Linked DNA regions of Homo sapiens: regions 1, 2, 3, 4, 5 and 6 are each linked to region 7. Evidence: promoter capture Hi-C in 16 types of primary human blood cells and fetal thymus (Javierre and others, 2016). All regions are on one chromosome and are shown on one strand. The core of a region is centred on a gene start or on the middle of the fragment in contact, and the rest is flanking DNA. Distances in the headings are between cores, read along the strand shown.

Region 1 (2,700 bases), core at 123-2,622, 3.5 Mb after region 7:
AACGACATATGTAACACGTGTCACTGCAGAAAAATCAGAAAAATGTTTAAAAATTTTTTATATCACCTAGAAACCAACATCTTTCCACCTGTCATTTTTTTCAACCAACAAGAAAGTCTATGCACAAAATAGAATACATACAACAGGCAGTCAGCAATCATCAAATAGATAAACGTTTCAAAAGGCCTTTCATGCAATGTATATTCTTCCTAATTGCTGTAAGACGTCTTTACAGTAAATAACTCCATTTTTAACGAGTTTAAAAAGAGTTAAGCTTTCTTTTTCGTTCTCATTAAAATAAGCATATGCTTTAAATTGTAAAAGAATTGAAACAAAAACATGTTGCAGGAGAGCCTGAACTAGAATCCACTACATGTCCAACGTGGAGGCAGTCTTTACTGCAATATCACACGGTCACTAAATACTTGATTCGCTATTTTTCAGTCCGGCATAAATCTTTCTCTTCGAAAAAAACAAAAAAGGCATAAACTGCTTCAAATGATTCGTTTCCCTAGACAGTACTTAAAGACAAAACCAAAAAAGGGGGTTTCTAAGCACCGTCACACGAGTGAGGCGACTCTCAGGCTGGAGGCTTTGGGCGCCAGCATCGACGCCTGCTCTCCGCGGCTACAACTCGTTGCGCGAGCCCGGGGATTCGCCGCCGGAGGTCACGAAGCCGCCGGGCAGGGCCGCAGCGCCAGCGAGGACCCAGGATCGTCCCGAGCCCGGACGCAGCCAGACAAATGCCCGTCGGAGGCGCAGGGCAGAAGTCCCTGGGACTTAGCCGCCTCCACCCCGGCGCCACGCACCAGCTTCGCCCGGGCCCAGAAGCCGGCGCCAAGGAGACTTCCAAGCCCCGACACCAAAGGTTCCGTAAAGACAACGGCAGCAGGGGGCCGAGGGGAGCCCGGCCAAGGCGTCCTGCGCAGGGGGTGGAACTGCCTTCGGGATGGGGGAGGGGAACGCCATCCCGCCATATAACGAAGGCAGAGTTTCCGTATAAAGGGAGCTCCGGTCTCTCCCGCCCTCTCCCGTTAGAAGATGCGCCCGCACGCCCGCGTCCCCTGGAGCAGTCCAGCGCCCGACCCACCCGCTCCTCCCTCACACTCACCAGTCAGTCCCCCGAGGCCCTCCCGGCCGGCCCACGCAGAGGCGGCGGCGGCCGAGAGCGCAGGCGGAGGGGCCGCGCGGTCCTTCCCGCGGACGCACGGCGGCGGGCAGCGCTGCTCCGGCCCTAGCGCTCCCGGACGCTGTGCTGGGCCGACCCCTCTCCCTCCCCGCGCGCCCCACGCCCTGAGCGCCAGGCCCCTGGCCTAGGCTCCGCGGCCGCACTGCCCTGGCCGCCACGCTCCGCGCCTGCGCCGCGCACCTCAGGGGCCCGCCGAGAGGGCGGGGAGGTGACGAGGTGAGGTGGGGGCAGGGAGCGGGCTGCGCGAACGCACCGCACACGCGGCCTGGGAGGGACCACCGGCCCGCAGCCCCGGGGGAGGCCCAGCGGCCCGCGCCCCCTGCCGGAGGCCTTGCGCCGCCGCAGTCTCCTTCTGGGCGGGGAAGAGCCCCTCCCGAGCCCCGAGGGCGATCCCACCCTCTAGGATTACTCCACGCCAGGCGGCCAGCGAATTTATCCCGCCCGCCTCCACCGCCCCTTCAAGCCCTGGGGAACTGGGAGAAACGTGGCGCGCAGCGGCACCTTTCCCACGCTGCTCCTCAAGGGAAAGGACGCGAGTGGTCTTGCCCAGGTTAGGCAAGGCAGATGGCATCTCAGACCCCGAAGTGTGCCAGCCGCCTGTTGGGGACAGAGAGGCCGAGGACCTCGTCACGGTTTTACTGAGGCCACACCAGAGAACCACCTAGGGCTAGGATGCTGCCCTCAGGGCAAGAGGGTGAAACCTGAAGACTGCGAGTCGTTGTTGAGTTTCACCCGATTCCTTGGCTCGAGAAATAGTGGAATGAATGAGGAGTTAAGGGGGACTGGACTCGACGATTTAAGTCCTTTCTCGACTTTGACTTTCTTTGAGCAGCTGTAGAAATGATTAAATTACACGAGCATAAATAAATTTGTGAACATGGTTCCATAAATGATCTCTGTGCAAGTGTGGTGATATGTTTAATTCAGTCCTTTTGACAATGAGTTGAGGTTTTTAGTCACATTTTACAAAATGGAAAAGTAAATGTGTGAGAAGCTAAAGACTGGGTCTTAATTCATTTTGGTAGCCTAAACCCCTGAGGTTCAAACGGTTAAGAGGATGACTGAGAGCCATGTGGATTATCAGGTACCCAAGGTCACTCGGATAGTTAGGGCTGCAATGATGTCTCTTTGTTCACGTCCACTGCTTTTTCTGACAACCACATGCCAATCAACCAATCAATCGCTGGAAAGTAATAATCACAGACTTTACTCTGATCCCTTCACCATCCCCCAGGAGATAAAGCTATATTTGAAAGAGACACTACTTGTTTGTGAGGCTCAGTTTTTATGACCTCCTAAGTTTTATGTGCGTACTCAGCTCAAATAAATGCTCACGAATGCTAGTATGGCCCGAATTAAAGTTCGAAGAAATGTAGAGACATTTTTAAATCCTAGAATAGTTAGTATCTAGCACAGAACCGGGAATCGGTGGAAACCACAAGGGGGTGTCATGCCACCATCTTACCATTTTGCCTTACCACATAGCCTTGTGTCCAACAAAATCTTTATAT
Region 2 (2,700 bases), core at 143-2,642, 3.2 Mb after region 7:
TAATACTTTAGTATACAGAACCTACTGATTTTACAGATCAACTTCATACCACATTACTTTATATAGAGATTACCTTTGCCTTCTAGATATATAGAACTTCTTTTTGGTCCCTCCAGCCCCCAGACCTGTCCCAAATGTAATTAATCTAACAGACCTAAAATATGAAGTAAATGTTATTCAATTCAATAAATACTTATTAGAGGCCCAGAATGTGATCAGAATGATAATAGGAAGTACAGAAGAATTGTATGGCCTTCTGATGATACTACTGCTGGATTTATAAAAAAAAAAAAAAAAGAAAGAATTGTATGGTCTAGACCCGACACTCAAAAAAACTTACAATCTATTTGGAAAAAGACTAAAAGACATGTTAAAAATTCAAAGAAGAGCATCTGTCTTCAATTTGGCTTCCACCTAAACATTCCATTAAAACTACTGACATAAGTCACTAATGACCTTCTTTTTTCTTTTTTTTGAGATGGAGTCTCGTTCTGTCCCCCACACTGGAGTGCAATGGCACAATCTCAGCTCACTGCAACCTCCGCCTCCTGGGGTCAAGCAATTCTCCTCCCTCAGGCTCCCGAGTAGCTGGGATTACAGGTGCCCGCCACCGTACCCAACTAATTTTTGCATTTTTAGTAGAGACAGGGTTTCACCATGTTGGCCAGGCTGGTCTCGAACTCCTGACCTCAGGTGATCCACCCACCTCAGCCTCCAAAGTGCTGGGATTACAGGCGTGAGCCACCGCCCCCAGCCACTAATGACCTTCTACTAGGCAAATTCATGGATACTTAACATTTTTAATCTCATCTGACTTCTCTAAATTATGACAGTATTGCCTACACAAGAGTTTACAAACTTTTCTGTCACAGCCCAAAGAAAAAATGTCATTAATTATATATTTCCACAGGCCCACCTGGATTTTTTTAACTTCTTTCTTAGTGTAAAGCTTTCAATGTCACAGCAGAAAACACCGAGAATAACTGGAATTTTATGCTTCCAGAAACTTTTTCTTTTCTTGTTCTTCCCCTGCTTTTTTTCCTACATCCCTAATTGTTCCCTTTCTTTCTCCTTCAAGGGTACCTTTTATTCTCTATTGGTTAAAATATACAACAAGTTTTTGCTAGAACTCCATCTTCAATCCTCTTCTCATGTTCCAATTTTTTTCAGAGTAATAAAATGCAACTCCATGTCTTAAAATCTTTCTTATAACCTTTTATTCCCGTTTACTGAATTATCACCTGGATGTTCTAAGTACTTTGAACTCAGTGAACCCATTTACTTACTACACATGAAAGAGTTAACACTGCAAGCCTGAGAAAGGCCTGCTTGTAAGGCTGACTCTTAGCTGGTGTCTGGAAACATGACTGGCAAACAGTTCCCTATGTTCATATAAAACTTGTCCCTAAATGGTAAGGGTAGCTCGCTATACCTACACTGTTTATACAATGTGGTTTGTTCTGAACACTTGCTTTCCTTCTGAGAATCTAAAATTTTGTTACATGCCAGGTAGATGGTACCTACATAACCAGCCCTCTGTAAAATCCTTGGGTACTGAGCCTCAGAGTTCTCCTGGAAGGTAACACAGATCATAACTTGTTGCTGGAGGGATTAAGCACATCCTGTGTGACTCCACTGTGAGAAGACTCTCCAAAGCCTGTATCTGGACTTCATCATCCCCTGTCCCTTTTCCCTTTGTCGATTTTGTTTTGTATCTGAATCTTCAGTACAATAAATCTTAGCTGTGAATACAACCATATGCTGAGTCCTGTGAGTGAGTCTTGCTGGTGAATAATTGAACCTGAGAGTGATTTTGGCTATCCCTGATAAGCTTGTTTTTTTTTTTTGTTTTTTTTTTTGAGACAGAGTCTCACTCTGTCACCCAGGTTGGTGTGTAGTCATGAGATCTCAGCTGCAACCTCTGCATCCTGGGTTCAAGTGATTCTCATGCCTCAGCCTCCCAAGTAGCTGGAATTACAGGTGGTACGCATCACCACACCTGTCAAATTTTTGTATTTTTAGTAGAGATGGGGTTTCGCCATGTTGCCCAGGCTGGTCTCAAACTCCTAGACTCAAGCAATCCACCCACAGTCTCAGCCTCCCAAAGTGCTGGGATTATATAGGCGCGAGCCACCACGCATGGCCAACCATGCCTTTTAAAACCGTAACACTTGCTCCTTCCCTTTATATTCCTATCTCAATGCATGGTACTCTCTGTTCAGAGTTACCCCAACCAAAAATCTAGGAAACTTTCTCAACTTCTCTCTTGCTTTCACTCCCTCGATCATTTAGTACCATTTGTCTCCTGGTTACCCTGAAAGTCCCTTCAGAATCTCTACCAGCATTATATAATAGTTTAAACCTTTTTCATTTCTCATCTGGACTCTGACCATCACATCTGTTTAAATTCCTTTGGGGTTATCCTTCAGTCACTAGCTTAATACAACCCTGGGATGGTTTACAAGCCCTTTTATGACTGCTCCCTGCCTACCTTTCCTGCTACTGCTCTCTGCCTACCTTTCCTGCTACTGACCCTAATAAGCCCAATGCTGCAACCATACTTAATTGTATTACATTTTCAAGCACATAAGTTTCTTTCACAATTCCATCCCTTCACACATGCTGGTCCCTTTGCTTTACCCAGCTTTGTCAGCCAAGCTAATTCTTACTCATTGATCAAGATTCATCATGTTACCTCCT
Region 3 (2,700 bases), core at 156-2,655, 3.6 Mb after region 7:
TAGCGCTTAAGTCACTACTAAGCTTTGAAGTCCTTTGTAAATAAGAGTCAAGTTGATTATGTAGCAGTATACTTTAGATGTATAAAATTGCCAAGTCAAACAATAAAAACACACCAAGAGATAACGATATGAGTTACCATGTAGCACTGTTTTTTTTTTTTTTTTTTTTTTTTTGAGATGGAGTCTCGCTCTGTCACCCAGGCTGGAGTGCAGTGGCGCGATCTTGGCTCACTGCAACCTCTGCCTCCCAGGTTCAAGTGATTCTCCTGCCTCAGCCTTCCGAGTAGCTGGGACTACAGGCACGTGCCACCACGCCCGGCTAATTTTTGTATTTTTAGTAGAGACGGGGTTTCACCATATTGGTCAGGCTGGTCTTGAACTCCTGACCTCATGATCCGCCCGCCTTGGCCTCCCAAAGTGCTGAGATTACAGGTGTGAGCCACCACGCCTGACCGAGACTCCATCTTAAAAAAAAAAAAACCATACACCCACACACACATACACACACGTACTTTTAAGATTTCAGTTCTTTTCAAGTTAAGATTTGTGTTGCCCCAGAATATCTTGGTGAATGTCCCATGTGCACTTATGAAAGAATATTTTGTTTGCTATTGTTGGGCAGAATGTAGTTTCTTACCAAGTTGATGATTTTGTTAGCATTGATGTTTCAAAATATAATTGTGGATTTCTTTATTTCTCATTTCACTTCTGTGTATTTTTACTTTGTGTGTTTTGAAGCTTTGTTGTTAGATGTATACACATTTAGAACTCTTGTGTTTTGATACATTGACTCTTTTTAATCAATCTGTACTATCTCTCTTTATTCCTAGTAATATCTTTGTTCTGAAATCTACTTTGTCTGATATTAATACAGCCAGTCCAGCTTTTTTTGATTAATTTTTCCATGGTATTTTTTCCCATCTTTTTTATATCTATTTTTATATTTAAAGTGAGTTACTCGTAGACAACACGTATTAGATCTCTTTTTAAAAATTCCAATCTGACAATTTCTGTGTTTTAATTGCTGTGTTTAATTTACATTTAATGTAATTATATGGATTTAGGCTTGCCATTTTATTATTTGTTTTCTGTTTTTCCTCTATACTTTTGTTTTTATGTTTCTACTTTCCTGCTTTCTTGTGGATTATTTGAAAAATTTTTAATATTCCATTTTAATTTCTATATTGTAGTTTTAATATATTTCTTGGTAATTTTTTGGTAATTCTATGGATTATAATATACATACCTAAAGTTTTGCGGTCTACTTAGTATTACTATTACACCACTTCAAGTAAAATGTAGAAAGAAGCCTTGCAACCGTGTAGATTTACCACTGTCTCCTACCCCACTCCCTGACCTTTATGTCATTAGTTGGCATATGTATTACATTTATATATATGGAAGCCCCATCAGATGTTTTTATAATTTTTGCTTTCAACAGTCATATAGAACTCAAGAGGAAAAATAATCTTTTATATTTACGTATCCATTTACATTTATGTTTTGCTTCATTCCTGAAAATCCATTTTTCCTTCTGGTATAATTTCCCTTTATCCTGAAGAATTTTAACATTCTTTTTAGAGAAAGTCTGCTTGTGACAAATTCCCTTCATTTTCCTTCATTTGAGAATATTTTACTTTTGCCTTCATTTCTGCAAAATATTTTAGCTGATTATACAATTCTCGGTTAATGGTTTTCTCCCCTCCCTGACCCATCAGTACTTTAAAGAATCATCATTGCATTTCTTAGGAGATGAAGAGCAAACCCTGTACTTTCCTCAAAATTCCACTATGTGAGCTAAGAGATCTAGTATCTGAGAAGTTCACCTTAAAACACTTAACAGTCAATGTTTTTCATTCCAGCCATGCCTTGCCTAGAGTCAGATATGAATGTCATTACTATCACACAACCATGTTAAAGTCTAACTGCTCTACTTACACTTAGCACGGGAGGATTCTGGCAAAGCTCCTTTCCATACTTGAAATACAAAACAATTCTGGCCACAGAAAGGAGACAAATGTGTAATGTTCTCAAGTTACCAGGAGTGCACTTATGGAGAAATCAAAGCTTTGAAATTCGTAAAAGACTATTTTCAGCCAGGTGTGTTGGCTCACGCCTGTAATCCCAGCACTTTGGGAGGCTGAGGTGGGTGGATCACTTGAGCCCAGCAGTTTGAGACCAACCTGGGCAACAGGGCGAAACGCCGTCTCTACAAAATAATACAAAAAAATTAGCCGGTCCTAGTGGCATGCATCTGTAGCCCCAGCTACTCGGGTGGCTGTTGCTGAGGTGGGAGGATCCGCTGAGCCCAGGAGTTTGAGGCTGCAGTGTGCTGTGAGCATGTCATTGCACTCTAGCCTAGGCGACAGAGCAAAACCATGTCTCCAATAAGTAAATAAATAAATTAATTTAAAAAACATAAAAAAGACTATTTTCAGGTCTCATCTGTGGTCATTCAAATAGTTTCCCCCAATACGTAATTTTTCTTTTTTCTCTGGATTATATCAAGATTTAAAAATTTAGTTGGGAGGCCGAGGTGGGTGGATCACGAGGTCAGGAGATCGAGACCATCCTGGCTAACATGGTGAAACCCCGTCTCTACTAAACAATACAAAAAATTAGCCGGGTGTGGTGGCGGGCGCCTGTAGTCCCAGCTACTCGGGAGGTTGAGGCAGGAGAATGGCGTGAACCCGGGAGGCG
Region 4 (2,700 bases), core at 156-2,655, 3.2 Mb after region 7:
TGGGCAGATCACCTGGGGCCAGGAGTTTGAGACCAGCCTGGCCAACATGGTGAAACCCCATCTCTAATAAAAATACAAAAAATTAGCCGGGTGTGGTGGCAGGTGCCTGTAATCCCAGCTGCTCAGGAGGCTGAGGCAGGAGAATTGCTTGAACCTGGAAGGTGGAGGTTGCAATGAGCCAAGATCACGCCACTGCGCTCTAGCCTGAGTGACAGAGCAAGACTCTGTCTAAAAAATATATATATGTATAAAACCCTGCCAATATATACATTATAAAACAATAGAAATCTTAAAGAGGTAAAAATAAATAGAAGTTTAATAGTATCATCTTGCATCTTGATAAATCTTTGGAGATTCATATCTGGATGGACTGCTATTCCTTTCCCTGTAGTAGCAACAGCTACCAAGCAGGCCACAATATCTGTGTCTGCATGTCAAGGACACAGTGATTAGTTGAGACCAGAACATGTCTTTTTTAATATAATGAAAATAGCAAATTATTATCACTTCTTATTAGCTCATTGAGTTTTGAAATAACATGAATCAAATTGGGTCTCCAAAAGGAATCTATGTAAGTGTATCTCACTCCAAACAAAACTAATGGAAATATATTTGTAGTTAAAACTGTAAGCTTTTTAAAAAATACAGAAAGTGGTAATCTAGACACCCATGTAGACATACTTGTGCCAAAAAGATTTTTAGGAAATACTTAACAGAGTGGTTCTTTGGCATAAATATTCATAAGTTTTCTGTAGCAGAAGTGTTTATACATTCTCTTTTTTGGGAATTTTGTAGTAGATGATTGTTGAAATTGTATCTTTCTATTCTCTTTTCAGGTAGTAGATTCCATGGATGCATTAGATAAAGTTGTCCAGGAAAGAGAAGATGCCCTAAGGCTTCTTCAGACTGGTCAAGAAAGAGCTAGACCTGGTGCTTGGAGAAGAGACATCTTTGGAAGAATCATCTGGTATGTAGTTAACACTGTGGCTCTTCTAAGATGAGAGTGGAAATCCATGCCTCATTCCCCTGCCCAATATCTTTTAAAAAAAAATTTGTACCATATGAGATAATATTAGAGATATGTCTAATAAAAGAAGAGGCCCCACACCCCTTTGGACTTTAATGAAGGAGGATATGAATGAAGGTAGCTTTATCTGGTAAAACCAGCCCAGACATCCCATTCCTATGATTCAGTTACCTATAAGTCTTTATTGTAGTGGTTCTTAGTCTTATATGAATCACAAGGCCTTTTGAGAATTTGATGAAAGTTAGGGATCGTTTCCTCAGAAAAATGTACATGTACACATATCACTTCAGAAGGTATAAAATCCATGAAGCTAACTTCAGGACACACACCTGCCCTCTTTGCACATTGAGAACCTGGAACTATTTTTTTTAAAGTCTCAGGGAATGTCACATGAACCAGTTTCAGTTTGCTCCCACTGCCATCAGGATAAGCCCTAGGGCAAATTATGAAGTAGTTTATTTTTTATACCTCCTTGTTTCTCCTACATTCAAATCCCAGAGTCTTGTCAGCCTTTGGGAAAGGATCTGGTAATCAGCCTTCATGCTGAGGTGTAAATAACTGAGAAGACCTGGTGTAAATAAACCTCCTTCGGTGGGGAGGCTGTTCAACCCAAAGGTAAATAAACCTCCCCTCAGAAAGAGGTTTATTTACCTTTGGGCTGAACAACCAAGATGAAATATCATTAGACTTTTAAACGTAGGCAGAATGGGGAAGGCATTTTGGTTAGAGACCTTCCCTGTACTCTTGACATTATACCACTTAACTCATAACTCATTCGGTAGGTTCTTTTAATGGGGTTTAAGTCCAACACAGAAAAGAGAAATTGCCAAAGCATCTCACTAAAAATGTTTATGTTTTATTTTCTACTAATTTTTATTTGGACTAACCCTTTTGAGGTAAATTAGGAAAGTGAAAATGTATTAAATGTTTTCTTTAAGGCAAATAACTTTTTGCTTTATTGGCAGGCACAAGTTCAAGCAGTGGGTTATACCTTGGCACCTAAATAAAAGATACAATAGGAAACGATTCTTTGCCTTGCCTTATGTGGACCATTTTCTCAGGTGAGCACAAGCACCTTTAATAAAACATATTATCTTTATACCAGATGACATATGGTCATATATCATACCAGATGACATAAAGAAAGCTTAAGCTGTCTTTAAATTTTAATTTCTGTTATTACATAAGTATTATAAAAAATAGGAAAGTCAGGCTGGGTGCGGTGGCTCACACCTGTAATCCCAGCACTTTGGGAGGCCGAGGTGGGTGGATCACGAGGTCAGGCGATCGAGACCATCCCGGCTAACATGGTGAAACCCCGTCTCTACTAAATATACAAAAAATTAGACGGACATGGTGGTGGGCACCTGTAGTCCCAGCTACTTGGGAGGCTGAGGCAGGAGAATGGCGTGAACCCGGGAGGCAGAGCTTGCAGTGAGCAGAGATCGCGCCACTGCACTCTAGCCTGGGTGACAGAGTGAGACTCCGTCTCAAAAACAAACAAACAAACAAAATAGGTAAAAAAGAAAATTGAAGTCATATATAAGCTCACCTTCAGAAATAGCCACAGTCAGCCAAGCGTGTTGGCTCATGCCTGTAATCCCAGCACTTTGGGAGGCCAAGGCAGGCAGATTACTTGAGGTCAGGAGTTTGAGAACAGCCCGGCCAAAGTG
Region 5 (2,700 bases), core at 48-2,547, 3.4 Mb after region 7:
CCGAGAAAAAATAGAAAACTCGAATAGGCTAAGTTTCCCACATATTCAAAACTAGCCAGGTCTAGATGATTTTCGGGGTAACTTTCTATTACATGTTTAACGAAAAGATTAATCTTGCCGGGTGCGATGGCTCACGCCTGTAATCCCAGCAGTTTGGATCATGAGGCGTGTGGATCATGAGGTCAGGAGTTCGAGACCAGCCTGTCCAATATGGTGAAACCTTGTCTCTAATAAAAAACACAAAAATTAGCCAGGCGTGGTGGCAGGTGCCTGTAGTCTCAGCTACTCCAGAGGGAGAGGCAGGAGAATCACTTGAATCCGGGAGGCGGAGGTTTCAGTGAGCCAACATCACGCTACTGCACTCCAGCCTGGGCGAAAGAGCAAGACTCAGTCTCCAGAAAAAAAAAAAAAAAAAATTCACACTTATGGACTACAGAGGCAAACATAGGAAATATTAGCTACCTGAGGCCAACGTTGTATTAGAATTATTTTTTTATCCAAGTAGGGTTTTCCTAGGAATACAGAAATCATCAAACAGAAATCAATATAATCCATAATACTGACAGACCAAAGGAGGAAACCCACATTTATCTCAATACATGCAGAAGAAGTACTTGCTAAAGTTTAATATTTATAATAAGTCCTAACATTTATTTTTTATTTGCTATAAGCAAAGCTCTAATATTTATTATTTTTTAAATTATCAACCATTTCTCTTTATTTCCCTTGTTCTCTGCCTATACTTACCCAACTCTTAATATTTAAAGCATGTTGTTACTATTAAAGTATGTGATACTCTTGGAGGAACAAACGATGGAATGTAATTGTGTAAGACACAGATTTACATGCTAATTATGTCCATGGGGAGTTGGTATATGATAAAATTGGTATTATGAATCACTGGGTAAGATAAATTATTTTATCACATTGGAGAAATTGGTTCAATTTAATTAACAAAAATAAAGTTTGAATCATATCTATATACAAATTCAGATGGGTATAAGACCTGAACATGAAAAGTAAAACCAGGCCGGGCGCGGTGGCTCAAGCCTGTAATCCCAGTACTTTGGGAGGCCGAGGCGGGCGGATCACGAGGTGAGGAGATCGAGACCATCCTGGCTAATCCGGTGAAACCTCGTCTCTACTAAAAATACAAAAAAATTAGTCGGTTGTGGTGGCGGGCGCCTGTAGTCCCAGCTACTCGGGAGGCTGAGGCAGGAGAATGGCGTGAATGCCGGAGGCGGAGCTTGCAGTGAGCCGAGATCTCACCACTGCACTCCAACCGGGGCGACAGAGCAAGACTCCGTCTCAAAAAAAAAAAAAAAAGAAAAGTAAAACCAGAAAATTAGGAAAAAACGTAGGAAAATAATTTGGGGACATTTTAGTTGGAGAGAATTTTGTAAAATTAACAGACAGGAGGTACAATGTAAAGGGAAAATGTGATGAATCTATTACATTAAATTTAAGGATTTCTGTTCAAAAAAGTCATCCATAACAGACACATAGGAAATCTATTTTTTGCAGTATATATTGCCAACAAAAATCAATAGTTAAAAATAAAGAACTTCGGAAAATAGAGCAGAAAACCCAACAGAAAAGCAGACAAAGGATAGGGAGAAGCAGTTCACAAAATGAAAGTTAAAATGACTAATAAGCATATTAGATAGTCTCAACCTTGTTAGTAATCAGATTATGCAAATTTAAACAATAATAATGTACTACTTTATGACCTTAAGATTTACAGGAAATTTAAAAGTTGTATGATATTGTTGATAAGCCTGTGCGGAAACATGATCTTGCTGATGGGAGTATAAACTTTAGTCATTCTGCATATATTTTGGAAGTACTGAATCACAAGTATATAAAAAACTGACAAGAACGTGTATGGTAGGTAGCATTATACAAAAGGCAAATACTTGGATACATGAAAGTCAATTTGATATTTAATTGAATTGTAGTTCAGAAAGGTGACAGTTTCCTGCATTATATGGTAAATCTCTTTGAGGTCAAGAACCATAGTTTATCTTTGTATTCCTGAGCACTTGGCTTGATAGTAGATATTCCATAGCTGTTAGTTAAATAGAAGCATAGTAAAATAGTCTTTTTGTTTTGTTTTGTTTTTTTGAGGAGTCTCGCTCAGTTGCCCAGGCTGGAGTGCAATGGCACGATCTAGGCTCACTGAAACCTCCACCTCCCGGATTCAAGTGATTCTCCTGCCTCAGCCTCCCAAGTAGCTGGGATTACAGGCATCCGCCACCATGCTTGGCTAATTTTTCTATTTGTGTAGAGACAGGGTTTCACCATGCTGGCCAGGCTGGTCTCGAACTCCTGACCTCAGGTGATCCACCTGCCTCTCAGCCTCCCAAAGTGTTGGAATTACAGGCGTGAGCCACCACGCCCAGCCTGTAAAAATGGAAGTTTTTAAGGTTAAAAAAAAAAAAAGTTTTTAAGGAAGGGGGTGTCCAATCTTTTGGCTTCCCTGGGCCACACTGGACGAAGCATTGTCTTTGGTCACACATAAAATACACTAACAATAGCTGATGAGCTCGAAAACAAAACAAAACAAAAAATTGCAAATAAATCTCATAACATTTTAAGAAAGTTTACAAATTTGTGTTGGGCCGTGGGTTGGACAAGCTTGTTTTAAGGAGTTGCAGAACCCATGGACTAAGAAAAACTTAGTAACATTACATCTACTGT
Region 6 (2,840 bases), core at 23-2,522, 3.2 Mb after region 7:
TAAATGACAGCTAGCATTAACATTGGTGAAGTCTCTCCTAAGGCATTGAACTTAGGATAAATTATGTTACTCTGTTAGGCTGAGAACACACTGCAATCATTCTTTAAAAAATTGTAAAGCTTAAAATGATTTTTTTAAAAATGAAGTACCAAAATTCGTTGTTTATAAAAAGTATGCAAAAAAATGTATCTGCTTGATATAAAAAATGAAATATAAAACTCTATCATGGCTGGTCACAGTGGCTCACACATTTAATCCCAGGACTTTGGGAGGCTGAGGTGGGTGGATCACTTGAGGCCAGGAGTTCCAGAAAAGCCTGGCCAACATGGTGAAATCCTGTCTCTACTAAAAATACAAAAATTAGCCAGGAGTGGCAGCACACACCTGTGATCCCAGCGACGTGGGAGACTGAGGCATGAGAATCGCTTGAATGCGGGAGGCAGAAGTTGCAGTGAGCTGAAATCGCGCCACTGCACTCCAGCCTGGGCAACAGAGCGAGATGCTGTCTCAAAAAAAACAAAACAAAAAACCTGACTATATCATAATTGCTGAATTAAGACATTAACTAGTGCGTTGACAAGGCATGTAACAGTATGTAATTGTCAATGTCCTATACAAACCTTATAATATTCCCAGTGTTCTGGGACATAGCCTTCTGGAATTTCTGCTAGTTCAGCTTGACCTAATAAGAAAAAATGGTTATGTTTAACTTTAGCATGAGGAGTTTATAAAATTAATTATTCACCATTAAAGTAAGAAACCAACTTCTTGTGGTTTTAAAGGATTCTTTAAAAAATTTGTACCAATGAAGATATGTAGTATTTTTAATTCACTTTAATCTGGTTGAAAATCAATTCATTTGTTAGACATTTTTAGACATCTCTCTGTGTAAGGCATTATTTATAGGTATTCCATGAGTTTCTCATTTTGTTTTTCTATACTGTAACAAGATATAATAAAAGACATATTATTCCTTCTGGTCTTCCCTATACCTATGATACAAAACATTTTAGGATTCAAGGTGTTAGAAGTACTTTGAACAAAATTTCCCACGAAAATCTAATGTTTACTGTCATTGACACTTTCAGTCTTTGTAAGAGGATTATAGTTTTTTTTTGGGGGGGGGACAGAGTCTCACTCTGTTGCCCGGGCTGGAGTGCGATGGCGCCATCTCAGCTCACTGCAACCTCCACCTCCTGGGTTCAAGCCATTCTCCTGCCTCAGCCTCCCGAGTAGCTGGGATTACAGGCGCCTGCCACCACGCCCAGCTAGTTTTTTGTATTTTTAGTAGAGACGGGGTTTCACTATGTCAGCCAGGCTGGTCTCGAACCCCTGACCTCATGATCTGCCCGCCTCGGCCTCCCAAAGTGCTGGGATTACAGGCGTGAGCCACTGTGCCTGGCCGAGGATTATAGTTTTATATGTTCTAGGATGGATTAAAAAATTCTTAGTTCAGATTGAGATTTGGTTATTTTAAGATAAACTGCCATGCTTATGCTTAATTATTTAAAGAGCTTTTCATTACAATATCCATAATTTCTTTTTTATATTAATGTACATATGTTTAAAAATTTTTCCAATCTGGTGGTGCTGGCAGGGGATGGAAGTGACTTACCAATGAATACATTCACCAGAGTTATGAAAATTGCTACTGGAATCCCAGTCAATGCAATGTAGAATCTCTAAGATAAAAAAAAAAGTGTTTCTCATGACCATTTCGTAACTCTCCCCACACACAAATCATCCTCATGATATGATTTCCTCATATTTCTTATAAAATAAACTTGCCAAATTGGGCATACAGTACCAAATTATTGATTTCTGTGATTTTACTTTTTGGTAAAGCAATGCCATGAAAGAAAATAATATGTTAAGAACAAAAGTCTAAAAGCATCAGGGTGATTTCTACCACTAAATAGGATTTGAGCTGGTCATAACAAGAAAAGTAAGGGCTCAACCAAGGAGATGAAAAAGGTCATTAAACACAACGGAAGGGCAAGAGAAAGTTTTAAGGTCAGTACTCAAATGATGATTCAGAGCTTTATCTACCGTGGCAGATGGTCCAGACAATCTCCCATTTTCTAAGCCTCTACTTTGTTCGTATAGAGCCTTGAGACAGAAATATAGTCAGCATTCTAAATAAGCAATGTAATTATATTATTGCTAAATTAAGATTGCACTATAGATCCCTGTTACTCTCTGAAATAAATGTTCCTGAACAACATATAAATATAAAATCATATCCCAAAATAATGTAGCTCCTTTATTTAAGCAAGTCTTTCAACAAGTTCTTTGGTAATTTAAAGAATATTTTAGTTATAGGAACACAGATTCTATTTCGAAACGCCATAATCTTCAGAAGAAAGGAATGGTTCAAGTTTTACCTCCATTTAGTGTAAATCCTTTTGTGAAGAAGGAAAGCTTCACTAATTTAAAGAGAAATTCAATAACAAATCAGACTTTACAGTCTCAGTATCTTCTACAGAAAGAAATATAAATTTACAAAATAAAATATTTCATAAAATGAAAGATGTTTTCTAAAGAGGCAAAAATTTTTTCCCTGTTACATGCAAAGACTTTAATTCAACAAAAAATTTAAACTTACCAATAACTTCAAAAAACGCCTGTCATAGAATCTAGAAGGTCTGATGACAAATAGTCTTTTCCCATGGTCTCCACTGTGTCGAACAGGAGCTGGGAATATTGAATTACCCTGTTTTATACAAGGTTCATATGGGTATACTGTTATATTCTGAGTTAAAATCAGATTATAAAAAAATACAAGGATCCTTTTGTAGCTCATAAGCAGGATGACTGGGTTTTCACACTCAGGTGTGAGA
Region 7 (2,745 bases), core at 128-2,627:
TTACCACTGCCTTTAGAATTAGTAAATGAAAACGCCAACTTGTAGAAGCATTAAGTTAATGCGATTTAGAAATTAAATAGTAACCGGCCTCATCACACAGATAAGGTTAGGCTTCTTCAGCCAGGGGCAATTTCTGTCCTAATTGTCACAGCTGCCTTAATGCTGTACTTTCTGCGCTGTAGCTGCCAGGAGGCAGATAAGATTTTTCTCTCTGAATTAATTCTGGGAAAGGTGGCACTTTTTATAGGCCTTAAATGACCCTTTTCTAAGATTTTTTGTTGGTGGTGTCCAGATGTTCCAATAATACTGGAGAGTTAACTATTCCTTCCAAACCTGTGTCGTTCAAACTGCCTTGAGGAGAACGGGAAAAAAGTAAGGTTCACACTCGAAAAGTTTCACTCGGGGTGGGGTGAGGACGAGGTAGGAAGGAAACGACAGTACGTATCGTTCGTAACTATCGTACAATACGTATCGTTTCCGAAGCTAGACCGGCAGCTGGCACAGTCTTTCCCCTTTCCAGGTCCTGGGGAGAAACGTCTCTCGCTGAGGGGGCTAGACACCTACGACAGCCTCCTCCTCGGGAATCAACACAGCTCTGGATCGTGACACGCTTCCAGAAGTCCGTGACGAGTGGGGGCAGAAGACAGGTTCTTCGCTTCCCCTTCACCCAAACACGTCCCAAATTGTTCGAGGCAGGAAGAGCACGCCTCTCTCATCTCCCCAAGACCTACTCTCGCTCAGCTCCCTCGCCCTGTTTCCTCTGGGGGCACCGCCACCCCGCTCGGGACTCCCGCCTCTGGCCACAGCAGCCCCGGAGCGGCAAGGGGGAAGAAGTAACGGAGAAGCGCCGGCTAGAAGCGGCCGCCTCCGGCCGCTCGGCGCCAGCCTCGGCGGCCCGGGCTTGGAGGCGAGACGAGCCCGGGAGCCGCACGGGGCTTCTCCGGCTCTGGGCCCCGCGCCCGTCTCCGCTGCGGCCTAGCCGGGCGCCCACGCCCTGGCCTCCCGGCTCCGCGCCGCCGGCCTTTCCCCGCCACCCCGGGCCGAGAGGCCCCGCGGGGGCGGACGAATGGAGGTGGAGGGGCGGGGGCACCTACCAGCTGCTGCCGGATCCAGCGCCACATTCCCCCGTCGTCGCCGTCCGGGTCCCGCGGGGCGCGGGGGCCGCGGGGCTGCAGGTGGAGGCCGACAAGACAGAGGCGGGAGCGGGCGAGCCCCTCGGGCCGAAGTTCCGCTTACCGCCGCCGCCGCCACTGCCTCACTCCCCGCGCCGCGTCCCCATCCCGCGGCGTCGGCCCCGAGTCCTACAGGCGCGGCCCCGGCGCCGCCCCCGCCCGGCGCAGCTGAGCCTGCCGCCGCGCCGCAGCCACCTTCATTATTGACCGTTGTCACCCAAAGCACCCCCGCAACCCCACCCCCGCCCCGCCCCGCCCGGCCCCCCGGCTCCACCCGGGACCGCCCCCGGCGCCCCGGCCCGCCCCCGGACGTGACGAAAGGGGGTGCGCGGACCGAGGGGGGCCTGGCGCGCCCCGCCGCCGTTCCGAGTTGGGGGGTTTCTGTGTTGTGGGTCCGGGAAGAAGCGAGCGTGGAAAGGTGCCGGGTTCTCGAACGCTGTTTCTGTCCACTGCCACCCTCCTCCCCGTTCTGGGAGTGGGATTAAGTCGTGTCTGTGGGTCTGGCCATCTCCGGAGTCTGCAGCTTGGGGCCGATTCCTCGGTCTCTACCTCCTGTTGCAGGTCTTTTTCGGGCTCTGTGGCTTCTTTGGTTCACGCGTCTCCCGACACGCATACGCACAGTCCTGAACGTATGTGACTGAAAGTTAATCCCCCCAGAAGTCCCAGTTTGGGTTCCATCAAGCTGTAAGAGCTTTCGTCTCAACACAAGTCAGGCCTCTTCTTTAGCAAATGGCTGAGACGGGGCTAGGGAAATCTTGATCACACCCATTAAGTGATTCGAAAGCGTTGCAAGTCCCCTGAGCCTGGTACAGCCTGGACCCGTGTTTCTAGGCGAATGGATGAGATATTCTGTCTTGCCGTGTGCTAAATTGGACAGGTTCAGGGGAAGATAATTTGTATAAAAAGGTAGTTCTTTACTGCTAACTGCCAAACTTCTGCAATCAAAAACACCCGTAGCAGTAACTTGACCTAGGTTAAAAAAGTGTGTGGATGACAAGCTCAGAAGGAATATACAAGCAACTGGAACAAGGCTTTGACTTAAAGGTTTGGCGTTGTTTAAAAGCAGCCCCGTATACATATTGTGTTATGTATATGTATTGAATGCTGTATTTTTGCTGAATTAAAGCACACTTCACCGACAGACGTTTGTGGTTAAAAAAAAAAAAATTAAGCGGCCGGGCGCGGTGGCTCACGCCTGTAATCCCATGTAATCCCAGCACTTTGGGAGGCCGAGGCGGGTGGATCACGAGGTCAGGAGATCGAGACCTTCCTGGCTAACATGGCGAAACCCCATCTCTACTAAAAAATACAAAACATTAGCCGAGCGTGGTGGCGGTCGCCTGTAGTCCCAGCTACTCGGGAGGCTGAGGCAGGAGAATGACGTGAACCCGGGAGGCAGAGCTTGCAGTGAGCCGAGATGGCGCCACTGCACTCCAGCCTGGGCGGCAGAAGGAGACTCCGTCTCAAAAAAAAAAAAAAAAAAAAAAAATTAAGCAAGAACAAATCTAAATGAGATTAGCATGACTAGGCAGGTCGTTGAATATGCATCCTCAATCTTCTAGTTTCAGTAGAC

The links. Contacts are between HindIII fragments. The CHiCAGO score rates a contact against its expected background, and 5 or more counts as called.
Region 1: the fragment with the promoter of ZNF639 here is called in contact with the fragment with the promoter of ATP11B in region 7 in 7 of 17 cell types (activated CD4 T cells, naive CD8 T cells, M2 macrophages and 4 more); the score reaches 9.5 in activated CD4 T cells.
Region 2: a fragment that was not itself captured here is called in contact with the fragment with the promoter of ATP11B in region 7 in 1 of 17 cell types (M2 macrophages); the score reaches 6.0 in M2 macrophages.
Region 3: a contact is called between a fragment that was not itself captured here and the fragment with the promoter of ATP11B in region 7, in 1 of 17 cell types (naive CD8 T cells). The highest score is 5.6, in naive CD8 T cells.
Region 4: a contact is called between a fragment that was not itself captured here and the fragment with the promoter of ATP11B in region 7, in 2 of 17 cell types (M0 macrophages and naive CD8 T cells). The highest score is 7.8, in M0 macrophages.
Region 5: a contact is called between a fragment that was not itself captured here and the fragment with the promoter of ATP11B in region 7, in 1 of 17 cell types (M2 macrophages). The highest score is 6.2, in M2 macrophages.
Region 6: a fragment that was not itself captured here is called in contact with the fragment with the promoter of ATP11B in region 7 in 2 of 17 cell types (M2 macrophages and M0 macrophages); the score reaches 16.4 in M2 macrophages.

Annotation. Positions count from the first base shown.
Region 1 is chr3:179,321,703-179,324,402 of GRCh38, reverse strand. ZNF639 (zinc finger protein 639) reads right to left here and starts at 1,372. Exons shown (of 6, transcript NM_001303426.2): 1 at 1,112-1,372. RefSeq lists an enhancer at 413-462 and silencers at 1,033-1,172, 1,203-1,642. The HindIII fragment of the contact is 4,241 bases long and covers 277-2,700 here.
Region 2 is chr3:179,570,580-179,573,279 of GRCh38, reverse strand. All of the region lies in intron 3 of ACTL6A (actin like 6A), which reads right to left. LOC124909462 (a long non-coding RNA gene) reads left to right here. Exons shown (of 2, transcript XR_007096181.1): 2 at 1,510-1,757. Among named protein-coding and RNA genes, the nearest start is that of ACTL6A, 9.0 kb to the right of the region's middle. The HindIII fragment of the contact is 882 bases long and covers 952-1,833 here.
Region 3 is chr3:179,143,024-179,145,723 of GRCh38, reverse strand. All of the region lies in intron 1 of PIK3CA-DT (PIK3CA divergent transcript), which reads left to right. Among named protein-coding and RNA genes, the nearest start is that of PIK3CA-DT, 3.6 kb to the left of the region's middle. The HindIII fragment of the contact is 1,329 bases long and covers 741-2,069 here.
Region 4 is chr3:179,592,032-179,594,731 of GRCh38, reverse strand. MRPL47 (mitochondrial ribosomal protein L47) reads left to right here. Exons shown (of 7, transcript NM_020409.3): 5 at 837-967; 6 at 1,993-2,088. Among named protein-coding and RNA genes, the nearest start is that of MRPL47, 11 kb to the left of the region's middle. The HindIII fragment of the contact is 1,543 bases long and covers 634-2,176 here.
Region 5 is chr3:179,343,164-179,345,863 of GRCh38, reverse strand. No RefSeq gene overlaps it. Among named protein-coding and RNA genes, the nearest start is that of MFN1, 3.2 kb to the left of the region's middle. The HindIII fragment of the contact is 2,685 bases long and covers 1-2,639 here.
Region 6 is chr3:179,614,825-179,617,664 of GRCh38, reverse strand. It overlaps NDUFB5 (NADH:ubiquinone oxidoreductase subunit B5), which reads right to left. Exons shown (of 6, transcript NM_002492.4): 2 at 2,606-2,694; 3 at 1,616-1,682; 4 at 621-682. LOC124906348 (small nucleolar RNA U13) reads left to right here and starts at 2,787; the gene lies at 2,787-2,840. The HindIII fragment of the contact is 2,302 bases long and covers 122-2,423 here.
Region 7 is chr3:182,792,136-182,794,880 of GRCh38, reverse strand. It overlaps ATP11B (ATPase phospholipid transporting 11B (putative)), which reads right to left and starts at 1,377. Exons shown (of 30, transcript NM_014616.3): 1 at 1,095-1,377. The coding sequence starts at 1,121. ATP11B-DT (ATP11B divergent transcript) reads left to right here and starts at 1,517. Exons shown (of 3, transcript NR_187316.1): 1 at 1,517-1,801. RefSeq lists a silencer at 793-1,542. The HindIII fragment of the contact is 13,212 bases long and covers 1-2,745 here.